Linked DNA regions of Homo sapiens: region 1 is linked to region 2. The links are contacts of gene promoters, found by promoter capture Hi-C in blood cells and fetal thymus (Javierre and others, 2016). All regions are on one chromosome and are shown on one strand. The core of a region is centred on a gene start or on the middle of the fragment in contact, and the rest is flanking DNA. Distances in the headings are between cores, read along the strand shown.

Region 1 (6,366 bases), core at 942-3,441, 960 kb before region 2:
TTGATGTACATGTCATTGTTTTCTGCGGTGATGACCCTCCTATCTGTCATGGACAGCTTCTTAGAGACTCTTCTTTGGAGTGGTTTTACATAAAAACAGAAAATTCACGAACACTTTGACTAATACAATTGAACATCATCCTGCTCTAGGAAGAGATGTCCCTGGAAGCCCTGAGCAGAATGGTCAGCATGGCCCAGGATACGAGATAGAAAGCATGACACTGATTGACAAGTGTTTCCAGCTGTGCTTGTGGTTTTGTTTTCTTTTTGTTTGTTTGTTTTCAGACAGAGTCTCCCTCTGTTGAACAGACTGGAGTGCAGAGTCTTGATCTCATCTTATTGCAACCTCTGCATCCTGAGTTCAAGCAATTCTTGTACTTCAGCCTCTCAACCTAACTGGAATTACAGGCACATGCCTCCATACCTGGCAGATTTTCATATTTTTATTAGACATAGGGTATCACCATGTTGGCCAAGTTGGTCTTGAACTCCTGGCCTCAAGCAATTTGCCCACCTCAGCCTCGAAGTGTTGGGATTACAGGCGTGAGCCACCATGCTTGGCCTTTCATTCTGGTTTTTGAGAACCATCACAGAAGCATCTCTCACTAGCACTGTGACAGTGTTCATCACATAAACGAATGGTCATCTTCTCTAAGCAGTAGTCACTGCTGTAGAAATTCCTCTTAGGGAGGACATCATTCAGGCTCACTGCCTCATATATATGAGGCTCTTGACTGAACTCTTTTTTTTTTCTACACAGAATTTTGCTCTTGTTGCCCAGGCTGGAGTGCAATGTGGTGATCTCCGCATGCTGCAACCTCTGCCTCCTGGCTTCAAGCAATTCTGCTGCCTCAGCCTCCTGAGTAGCTGGGATTACAGGCACCCACCACCATGACTGGCTAATTTTTGTATGTTCAGTAGAGACAGTGTGTTCTTAAACTATGAAGATCACATTTGGGAAGTTTAAAATAAGTATTGCTTTTTGTGTAATTTTTACACATCTGAATATCAACTATTATTTACCATCTGTACTTAATTGGAAACCTATTGGTCTTTATATTTTTTAGATAGCTCTTTAAAATCCATGATGGAGTTCTCATCAACCAGGCACAGTATTACAGGAGAAGTGATCCACACAGGGACGTTGCAAAGACATAAAAGTCATCACATTGGAGATTTTTGCTTCCCAGAAATGAAGAAAGATATTCATCACTTTGAGTTTCAGTGGCAAGAAGTTGAAAGAAATGGCCATGAAGCACCCATGACAAAAATCAAAAAGTTGACTGGTAGTACAGACCGAAGTGATCACAGGCATGCTGGAAACAAGCCTATTAAAGATCAGCTTGGATTAAGCTTTCATTCGCATCTGCCTGAACTCCACATGTTTCAGACTAAAGGGAAAATTAGTAACCAATTGGACAAGTCTATCGGTGCTTCCTCAGCTTCAGAATCCCAAAGAATTTCTTGTAGGCTCAAAACTCATATTTCTAATAAGTATGGGAAGAATTTCCTCCATTCTTCATTCACACAAATACAGGAAATATGCATGAGAGAAAAACCTTGCCAAAGTAATGAGTGTGGCAAAGCCTTTAATTATAGCTCACTCTTAAGGAGACACCACATAACCCATTCAAGAGAGAGAGAATATAAATGTGATGTATGTGGCAAGATCTTTAATCAGAAGCAATACATTGTATATCATCATAGATGTCACACTGGTGAGAAAACTTACAAGTGTAATGAGTGTGGGAAGACCTTCACTCAGATGTCATCCCTTGTATGCCATCGTAGACTTCATACTGGAGAGAAACCTTACAAGTGTAATGAGTGTGGCAAGACCTTCAGTGAGAAGTCATCCCTTAGATGCCATCGTAGACTTCATACTGGAGAGAAACCTTACAAGTGTAATGAGTGTGGCAAGACTTTTGGTCGAAATTCAGCCCTTGTAATTCATAAGGCAATTCATACTGGAGAGAAACCTTACAAGTGTAATGAGTGTGGCAAGACCTTCAGTCAGAAATCATCCCTTCAATGCCATCATATACTTCACACTGGAGAGAAACCTTACAAATGTGAAGAATGTGACAATGTTTACATTCGCAGATCACACCTTGAAAGACATAGGAAGATTCATACTGGAGAGGGATCATACAAATGTAAGGTTTGTGACAAGGTTTTCCGGAGTGATTCATACCTTGCAGAACATCAGAGAGTTCATACTGGAGAGAAACCATACAAGTGTAATAAATGTGGCAGGAGTTTCAGTCGGAAGTCATCCCTTCAATACCATCATACACTTCACACTGGAGAGAAACCTTACACATGTAATGAATGTGGCAAGGTTTTTAGTCGAAGAGAAAACCTTGCACGTCATCATAGACTTCATGCTGGAGAGAAACCTTACAAATGTGAAGAATGTGACAAAGTTTTCAGTCGCAGATCACACCTTGAAAGACATAGGAGAATTCATACTGGGGAAAAACCATACAAATGTAAGGTTTGTGACAAGGCTTTCCGGAGTGATTCATGCCTTGCAAACCATACGAGAGTTCATACTGGAGAGAAACCTTACAAGTGTAATAAATGTGCGAAGGTTTTTAATCAAAAAGGAATCCTTGCACAACATCAGAGAGTTCATACTGGAGAGAAACCTTACAAGTGTAATGAATGTGGCAAGGTTTTTAATCAAAAAGCAAGCCTTGCAAAACATCAGAGAGTTCATACTGCAGAGAAACCTTACAAGTGTAATGAGTGTGGCAAAGCCTTTACTGGACAGTCAACACTTATTCACCATCAAGCAATCCATGGGTGTAGGGAAACTTTACAAATGTAATGATTGTCACAAAGTCTTCAGTAATGCTACAACCATTGCAAATCATTACAGAATCCATATTGAAGAGAGATCTACAAGTGTAATAAATGTGGCAAATTTTTCAGACGTCATTCATAACTTGTAGTTCATCAGTGAACTCATACTGGAGAGAAACCTTACAAATATCATGACTGTGACAAGGTCTTCAGTCAAGCTTCATCCTATGCAAAACATAGAATTCATACAGGAGAGAAACCTCACAAGTGTGATGATTGTGGCAAAGCCTTTACTTCATGTTCACACCTCATTAGACATCAGAGAATTCATACTGGACAGATGCCTTACAAATGTAAGGGTGGCAAGGTCTTCACTCTGTGGTCATTCCATGCAGAACATCAGAAAATTCATTTTTGAGATAATTGTTCCAAATAAAATGAATATAAAAAATCATAAAACTTTAATTGACATTAGAGTTGATTCAACATTGACTTGAGTTTGAGTTGACTTAACATTGAGTTCACGCATTAATTGACATAAAAAGTGTTAATGTTAAGAAGAATGGGTCAGGTGCAGTGGCTCATGCCTGTTTTCCCAGTACTTTGGGAGGCCAAGGCAGGTAGATCACTTGAGGTCAGCAGTTTGAGACCAGCCTGGCCAACAGACTTGAGCCACTTTACCCAGCCTGTTTTTTATTTTTATTTTTTGAGATGGAGTCTTGCTCTTGTCACTCAGGCTATAGTGCAATGACATGATCTCAGCTCACTGGAACCTTCACCTCCTGCATTCAAGCAATTCTCCTGCCTCAGCCTCCTGAGTAGCTGGGATTAGTGATGCATGCCACCACACCATGCTAATTTTTGTATTTTTATTTATTTTTTATTTTATTTTATTTTTTTGTTTTGAGATGGAGTCTTGCTCTTGTCACCCAGGCTGGAGTGCAGTGGTATGGTCTGGGCTCATTGCAACCTTTGCCTCCTGGGCTCAAGCAATTCTTCTGCCTCAGCCTCCTAAGTAGCTGGGATTACAGGTGCCCGCCACCAAGCCTGGCTAATTTTTGTATTTTTAGTAGAGAGGGTGTTTCTCCATGTTGGTCAGTCTGGTCTTGAAATCCTAACCTCAGCTGATCCACCCACCTCGGCCTCCCAAAGTGGTGGGATTACAGGCGTGAGCCACTGCAACTGGCTCTTTTAAATGTAATTTTATTTATTTATTTATTTTTGAGCCTGTTTTGCAGCCTTTACAAAAATCAGGGTTTTCCCACAAGATCATGAAGATTTTCATATAAGGGACCTCTGACCATTTGTGTTGGCGTTGGCAGTAAAGGTCAAGCAGGAATAAGGTAATAACATTCAAGCTCCCCACCTTTGGCCAGGTTCCTGCCTTTCTAGTTCATATTTTGGCCAAACCTAGCTACTCGCCAGGCTGAGGCAAGAGAATCACTTGAACCCGGGAGGCGGAGGTTGCAGCGAGCCAAGATCGCACCATTGCACTGCAGCCTGGGCAAAAAGAAAGAAACTTAGTCTAAAAAAAAGAAAAAATCAAGACCCTTCTCCTCTCTCCGTCATCGTAGTGTGTGCTTGACTTGGCTTCTTGCCATGTCTTCTCACAAGACTTTCAGGATTAAGAGAGTCCTGGCCAAGAAACAAAAGCAGAATTGTTCCATTCCCCAGTGGATTCGCATGAAAACTGATAATAAGGTCACAATCACGCAACCATATCAAGCTGAAAATGTCACCCCTATCTGGAGAGTTGGACATGTTTTATTGGGAATATATTTTTTATCTCTGACTCTGTTACGAACACATTGGTTGGCTAGGTTCGGTAATAAATATGTGAAACATTTTATTTAAAAAAAAAAAACGTCAATTGGGCGTGGTGGCTCACGCCTGTAATCCTAGCACTTTGGGAGTCCAAGGCAGGTGGATCACAAGGTCAGGAGATCGAGACCATCCTGGCTAACATGGTGAAACCCCGTCTCTACTAAAAATACAAAAAATTAGCCGGGCGTGGTGGCGGGCGCCTGTAGTCCCAGCTACTCGGGAGGCTGAGGCAGGAGAATGGCATGAACCCGGCAGGCGGAAGTTGCAGTGAGCTGAGATCGCGCCACTGCACTCCAGCCTGGGTTGACAGAGCAAGACTCCATCTCAGAAAAAAAATAAATAAATAAAAAATAAAAATAAAATAAGTCAAATGACGTAATTCGATAGAGTACCTTAACCTTTGTTTTGTTTTTTTGAGCTGGAGACTCCACTGTGTTCAGTGGATCACACCTGTGGTCCACGCACCTTGGGAGGCTGAGGTGGGAGGATTGCTTGAGACTGAGTCTCCTGGGAATCTTCTCGTCTCTTCTAACCCAGTTCATGACAGACCCTTGGACTTTATTGATGTGGAAAATCTATATAAAGCAATATCATTGTGTCAAAGCATTATGTCTGTCTGAGCTTGTGAAAGGATAATAAAAATTACCAAGCCAAAGAGAAAGGTCAAGCTGGGAATTGGGACAGAAAAACCTGCCTCCCATTTTATTCCTAAACAACATAGCTACAAAGACTAAAAAAAGCTACCTAGAGGCTGGGCGCAGTGGCTCACGCCTGTAATCCCAGCATGTTGGGAGGCCGAGGTGGGCAGATCACCTGAGATTGGGTTTTCCAGACCAGCATAACCAACATGGTGTAACCAACATTTTTAGTCTCTACTAAAAATACAAAATTAGCTGGGTGTAGTGGCGGGCGCCTGTAATTCCAGTTACTCAGGAGCCTGAGGCAGGAGAATCGCTTGAACCTAGTAGTCAGAGATTGTGGTGAGCCGAGATTTTGCCACCTGAAAGGGGGAGGACATGGGCTAAAACGATACAAACGCTGCAGAGCCACCGGGTCTGCGAGCTTCCCATGGCGAAGCTGGGACTCCCTGACAACTGCACAAACTCGCGTGGGGATTTCAACATCCCGACGCACCCAAATTCCTGGTATGGCTGGACTGGGGGCTGGGGTGCTGAGAAAGGCAGGTTTGAAGCAGAAAGACAAAAAATCACTCACCTGCGTCAGCCCCGGGCTCTCCGTGCAGAACAACCATGGGCTGGTCCTGGACCCTGTCTGGGAGGGTTCTGGACACTAAGCGGGGACAGGGCAGGAGAGAAAAGGTTGCTGAGCGGGCGGGGCCTGAACAGGTGCTGGGTCGGGGCGAGAGAGTGGAGGCCGCTGTGGGGGCGGGGCCTGGGGCGGGGCAAAAGGGAGAAGGCTGCCTGGGGGCCGGGCCGGACTGCGGGCAGGAGCCAGGCCAGAGGGTTGACGCCGTCTAGGGGGCGGGCTCTGGAAGGTGGGTTGTTCTAAAGGGCCAGGCCTGGAGGGGGCGGGTTCGGGCTTTCTCAGCTGGGCCGTGGATGTCTCCTGCTGTCATCCTCTCCCTCTAGGACTGGATCCTCCGAGTTCTGATTGGTGGATTCATTCTCTTGTGCCGTGATGTTACCCCTAATATCACATGGATGCTTCCTGCCCGTTTTAAGTTAACATTTCAAACAATCGAAGGTAAAACAACTTATTGTAGTAGACCACGTGT
Region 2 (6,400 bases), core at 3,288-5,787:
TTCTTACTGTTACAAATAAAAATCCTATGAACATTTGTACACACAGGCTTTGTGTGAGCACAATTTTTTACTTCTCTAGGATAATTACTGCAGAGTATGATTCATGGGTCATAAGGTAAGTGTATGTTTACCTTTGTAAGATACTAACCAGAGTGGTGTTTCATTGCTCACCAACAATATATAGAAAGGTTCAGTTGCTCCACATTCTTCCACTTGATGCTGTCAGTATTTTTTTTGTTTTGTATTGTTTTGTTTTGAGATGTAGTCTTGCTCTGTTGACCAGGCTAGAGTGCAGTGGCACGATCTTGGCTTGCTGCACCCTCTGCCTCCGGGGTTCAAGTGATTCTCCTGCTTCAGCCTCCTGAGTAGCTGGGATTACAGGTGCCTGCCACTGCGCCTGGCTAATTTTTGTATTTTTAGTAGTGACGGGGTTTCATCATCTTGGCCAGGCTGGTCTCGAACTCCTGACCTTGTGATCCACCCGCCTCAGCCTCCTGAAGTGCTGGGATTACAGGCGTGAGCCACCACGCAGGACTGGAATGTTTTATTTTACCTATTCTATTGTGTGTGTATTGGTATGAATACAAACATACCAATTGTATGTGGCCTTCCATTTGCACCTCCCTAAAGGCTTTTTTTTTTTTTTTTTTAAGAGACAAGGTCTCACTATGTTGCTCAGGCTGGAGTGCAGTGGCTATTCACAGGCACCATTATAGCACACTACAGTCTCAAACTCCTGGTCTTGAGAAGTTTTCTGTCCCAGCCTCCAGAGTAGCTGGGACTGCAGGCATTTGCCACTGTGCGCTGCTTAGAGCATTGTTTATTAATGCTGGATAAAGATTTTATCCAGCTGGATAAAGGTTTTATATCACTTGCAAATATTTTTCCATAGATGTGGTTCTTTCTTTTTTTCTCTCAGAGAAAAAGATTTTAATTATGATGAAGTCCAACTTTTTTTTTTGAGATGGAATCTTGCTGTCTTGCCCAGGCTGGAGTGCAATGGCATGATCTCGGCTCACTGCAACCTCTGCCTCCCAGGTTCAAGTGATTCTTCTGCCTCAGCCTCCCGAGTAGCTGGGATTACAGGCACCTGCCATCATGTCCCACTAATTTTTGTACTTTTGTAGAGATTGGGGTTTCACCGTGTTGGCCAAACTGGGCTCAAACTCCTGACCTCAGGTGATCTGTCCACCATGGCCTCCCAAAGTGCTGGGATTACAGGTGTGAGCCATTGCACCCAGCCTTTTTTTTTTTAATGGATTGTGGGGTTTTGGCATTACATCTAAGTATTCCTTCCTTACTGTAATTGATAATTCTTTTTCCACTTCCTTTGACAAAATAATGTAGTTTTGCTTCTTTTTTTTTTTTTTTTTTTTTTTTTTTTTGAGACAGAGTCTCACTCTCTCACCCAGGCTGGAGTTCAATGGCATGATCTTGGCTCACTGCAACCTCCGCCTCCTGGGTTTAGGTGATTCTCCTGCCTCAGCCTCCCAAGTAGCTAGGATTACAGGCACGCACCGGCATGCTCAGCTAATTTTTGTATTTTTAGTAGAGACGGGGTTTCACCATGTTGGCCAAGATGGTCTTGATCTCCTGACCTCGTGATCTGGCCACCTCAGCCTCCCAAAGTGCTGGGATTGCAGGCGTGAGACACCACGCCCAGCCAGTTTTGCTTTTTAATATTTAGCAATATCCATTTAAATTCATCTTTGTATATAGGGTAAGGGTTAATTTAAAGTTCAGCCTATGGTTGCCCAGTTGATTCAACAGTATTGAAAACACTGTCCTCTTTCCATTAAATTGATTTTGAACATTTGTAAAAATCAGTTGCCTGTTCTTGTGTCCATTTCTTGACTCTATTCTGTTGATGTGCGTGTCTATCACTCCACTAATAATCTACGGTCACTCCCATCAGAAATGACATAATATGCTCTATGAGGTAAAACAGCTATGTTACCTCATATAAAATGTTCAAAGCCAGAACCTGGACTTTGGGAAATGTCCCATATCCCTCTCCGGAAGCCCGCCTCCCAGTCTCTCGGTGTTCTTAGAGATGGCGAAGGATGGGGTTGCAGCACCAGAATTCCAGAATCGGAAGTAGGTTCTGATACGTGTTCAGCCTTTGGCAGCTGCTACTGTAGCCTTGAAAGCCTGATGCTGCGTGTGAATCCGGATGGGGAGCTTGTGGGGACGACCATGAAGTGGAAACGCATGTGAATGTCCGTGTTCAGGGGTTTTATTTCAGTTTAGTCACCGAGGAATATGGGTGTGAGAAAGAGACCCTTGGGATGTCAAAGGTTAAGGCTTAGTTTTAAGAGTTTAATGACTGAGGGTCCCACGGACAGAGCTTGAGGTCTATATGTTCACTTTTCATGAGTCTCAGTAATAGAAAACTGGGGAAAGTGTGTCTCAGTGAATGCTGTTTTTTGCTCAGATTTGCAATTTAATATGGGGCTCAGATACAGAGAAGCCCGAGCTAGGAAGAGGAGTGGCGTGAATGAAAGGTCTAGGGGGAGGAGTGTCAAAGGAGTGCCTCTGTGGTAAGTTTTAAATTGAATTTGAAGGCAATTTTATTTAGAGGAAGACGGGGCTTGTCTGTGTTTGAGAATGTAATGAGGCTGGAGGCTTTCAGGTGTGCAGTTGAAGGTTAGTGGTTGCTTTGAGACTAACTGGATGCTGGAAACACTTCCTGTCAGTCTTTCAAGTCCAAATCTGTCCTGAAGGTTTCTATTTAAAAACTTTTTCTTCCTAGGTCCACTATTCTCATTGTACCCATAAAAATCAGAGTAATTCAGGGTGACGAAGTGGTGTCTTTACCGAGGAGTCTTGCTCTGTCGCCCAGGCTGGGGTGCAGTGGCGCGATCTCGGCTTACTGCAACCTCCGCCTCCCGGATTCAAGCGATTCTCCTGCCTCAGGCTCCCGAGTAGCTGGGATTACAGGCGCGCGCCACCGCGTCCGGGTAATTTTTGTATTTTTAGTAGAGACTGGTTTCGCTTTGTTGGCCAGGCTGGTCTGGAACTCCTGACCTCAGATGATCCGCCTGCCTCGGCCTCCCAAAGTGCTGGGATTACAGGTGTGAGCCACCGTGCCCCACTTCACTTTCTTAAATGTTGTGTTTAGAAGCACAAACTTAAAAAAAAATCAAGTCCACTTTATTAATTTTATTTTGTTTTGTGGGTCATCCTTTACTCTCCTCTCAGAATTAACTCACGTCCATGAGGATTATCTCCCTTTTCCTTCTCTAAGTTTTATACTTTCTCTTAAACTTAGATCTATGATCTATTTTGAGTTAACTTTTGTGTATGGTTTGAGGGTCCTAACTCATTTTTCTGGATGTGGATATCCAATTATCCCAGTGCCGCTTGTTGAAAAGACTATTCTTATTGAATTGTCTTGGCACTTTTGTCAAAAACTCTTAACAATATTTTTATACTCTCAATTCTGGCTCTGCTCTTCCCATTGGCACCTTTACTAAAAGTGGCCTTTCTAGGAGGCCCAATTCCTTTAGTCTGTCGTGGCCAGGCTCACATCGTAATTCATTCTCAAAATCTCTTTTCTCTCCTCTCCTCTCCTCTTTTCTCTTCTTTTCTCCTCTTTTCTCTTCCTTCTCCTCCTCCTCTTCCTCCTTCTTCTTCTTCTTTTTTGTAAATAATAATCATTTTTTCGAGGCCAGGCGCGGTGGCTCACACCTGTAATCCCAGCACTTTGGGAGGCCGAGACAGGCAGATCACGAGGTCAGGAGGTCGAGATCATCTTGGCCAACATGGTGAAAGCCAGTCTCTACTAAAAATACAAAAATTAGCTGGGCGTGGTGGCGCGTGCCTGTAGTCCCAGCTACTTGGGAGGCTAAGGCAGGAGAATCGCTTGAACCAGGGAGGCAGAGGTTGCAGTGAGCCCAGATCTCGCCACTGCACTCCAGCCTGGCGACAGAGCAAGACTCCGTCTCAAAAAAAATTATAATTTTTTTCTTTCTTCACCACCCGCCCCCCCGAATACCTGCTATTTTTCTGTTCTTAAAAACCGCTTCCTGCAAGCTAATTTTCGCCAGACGCTTTCCCGTGGGTGTCTGCCTACCTGATGTGTTGCCTTTTCCCTTTCTACCTGATCTGTTACCTTTTCCATTTCCAATTCATTCTCTGGGATACCTACACCTGGCTGCACTGTTACTTGTCTTTTTCAAAACCTTTTTTTTTAAATTTAACAAAGTGGATGGAAAAGCGCTAAAGGCAATTTAGCTTGCCCCATATTTGCCTGATAAAGCCTGAGTCTCTGAAAATCTGCCCCCTTTCGCAAGACTTTAAGTGCCAGGAAACGAGGCGATTTCAGTGACTTCTCTTCTTCCCTGGCTCCTGGCTCAAAAACCTGCCACTGCCTTCTGTGCGTCCAATTTTCAAACATGGCTGCCGTCAGGAGCCACGGCTATGGGCGCGGCCATTTTACAGAGTAGGAAATGCCGTAAATGCGCTTGTCCTTGCTCTTTTAAACATTTTAGGTTCTCCTCGGCCGCCGTAGGTGGACCATAAACCCGTGCGAGGACTCCAGAAGTAGGAGCAGTTTACGGAAGTGTAACGTTGAGGCCCTTCTTGTGTATCTGGAGAAAATAGAGGTCAGTGTGTGGTTTTGTCCCTGAAAGTTTTTTGTCCTAGTTCAGGTTTTGTCTCAGTGGAAGGTTTGGGAGATCTGAGGACGTGGTGTACCCTGGACCACATAGTTTTTGGCAGGAAGACTGGGGAGCGCCGGGGTATAGGCATTTGGGAGGTACCTGGTGGGAGTCTGTGATCCCCCTGTCTGTGGTCCGCGTGCCTTTGGTGTGAGTACAGTGACTAAGGGTCTGTAGTGATCAACGGCCGTGTCCTAACTGTCAAGGTATGGATCACTCTGCTTGTAAAGGATGGAGGTGGCGATTAGGATCGATGCGGCGTCTGCTTCGGGTTCAGGATTTAATTTGGAACTCAGTGATGTTGGAGTCTGGGAGGATGTCCATCGCTGTAGAGTGTCTGGTCCGTGGTTCGGATGAGTAAGAGGCATGGGGCCAGTGTCTGTGGTACAAAGGCTTGTGAGGGCTGAAGCTTTCGAGACTTTGGAGCCCTGGGTCCTGGGTTGAGGTTCGAACCTCGGTTACTGGGGCAAAAGGCGACACAGCCCCCAGCATTAGTTCGAAACCATATATCTACTCTTCTGATCCTTGGGGTGGCTATTTACAGATCGGGGGGTCAAGTTCAGTCATACCCTCCGATTATATATTGTCTATGGCTGCAAAGGCAGCGGTTGAGTTGTTGTGACAGAGACCTCGTGGCCGGCAAAATCGAAAATGTTGCCAACCTCTGCATTCACTTCTTTTATTTTTTATTTATTTTTTTTATTTTTTGAGACGGAGTTTCACTTTTGTCTCCCAGACTGGAGTGCAATGGCGCGATCTCGGCTCACTGCAATCTCCGCCTCCCGGGTTCAAGCGATTCTCCTGCCTCAGCCTCCTGAGTAGCTGGGACTACAGGCCCACGCCACCACGCCCGGCTAGTTTTTGTATTTTTAGTAGAGACAGGGTTTTACCACGTTGGGCAGGTTGGTCTCGAACTCCTGACCTCAGGTGATCCGCCCACCTTGGCTTTCCAAAGTGCTGGGATTACAGGCGTGAGCCACCGCGCCCGGCCTTCACTTCTTAATATATAGTGAGTGTTGCTTGCCCGCCTTATATTCACACTTTCTTAACAGAATCTCCATTTCGTGAAGTATTCATCCCTGTGGCAAGGCGACCCAAATCCCAGTTTCTTAGTAAGGCCTTGTTGGTCTTAGCCAATCTTGCTGGTTCCAATTGCCATTGCTAGTGATAGGTTTGACATGGAAATGAGCTTAGGCGTATGGTGCAATTCTAGCCAACTATGTATGTGAAAATCTGCCTGGGAGTTTCTGAGGGAGCATTTTCTTTTTTAAATATGTAATTTCTTGAATCTCTTTTTCCATGTTCGTGATGATATCGCCTGAAAATAACATTAATTTTCTGTCTTACTTTGTAATGCTTATAATTCATTCTTATCTTAATGCATTGGCTCAACTTTCCAGTATAAAGTAGGAAAATAGGGTGTTAGTGGACGTTCTTGTTTTATTACCCACCTGTAAAATTCACCCGTTGTGTTGTCTGGAGTTAACACCTTTCCTGGAGGTAAACTGTTTGGTATGGTTGATCTCTTCCTTTACTTTGTTAATTTTTCTACATTTATATATTTTAAATGTACAATTTAATTATCATGGAGGCAATATATGTATAAGCAGTCATTGCCCAGGTCAAGAAATAGAATATGGTCAGCACACCAGTGGTGTTCTGTGAGTCTTTTTCCATTCTCACACCGAAAAGTATTTTAGGCTTTTCTTTATATAATTAATCATTATTTATCATTGTAG

What was found. Contacts are between HindIII fragments. The CHiCAGO score rates a contact against its expected background, and 5 or more counts as called.
Region 1: a fragment that was not itself captured here is called in contact with the fragment with the promoter of ZNF350 in region 2 in 1 of 17 cell types (non-activated CD4 T cells); the score reaches 5.0 in non-activated CD4 T cells.

The regions. Positions count from the first base shown.
Region 1 is chr19:52,946,285-52,952,650 of GRCh38, reverse strand. The region is part of intron 3 of ZNF816-ZNF321P (ZNF816-ZNF321P readthrough); the gene reads left to right. It overlaps ZNF816 (zinc finger protein 816), which reads left to right. Exons shown (of 4, transcript NM_001202457.3): 4 at 1,067-3,266. The coding sequence ends at 2,832. LOC124904761 (a long non-coding RNA gene) reads right to left here and starts at 5,923. Exons shown (of 2, transcript XR_007067329.1): 1 at 5,847-5,923; 2 at 4,595-5,206. The HindIII fragment of the contact is 1,673 bases long and covers 1,355-3,027 here.
Region 2 is chr19:51,984,977-51,991,376 of GRCh38, reverse strand. ZNF350 (zinc finger protein 350) reads left to right here and starts at 4,537. Exons shown (of 5, transcript NM_021632.4): 1 at 4,537-4,607. ZNF615 (zinc finger protein 615) reads left to right here. Exons shown (of 7, transcript NM_001199324.2): 7 at 1-45. RefSeq lists enhancers at 4,371-4,610, 4,197-5,072. The HindIII fragment of the contact is 6,623 bases long and covers 1-5,072 here.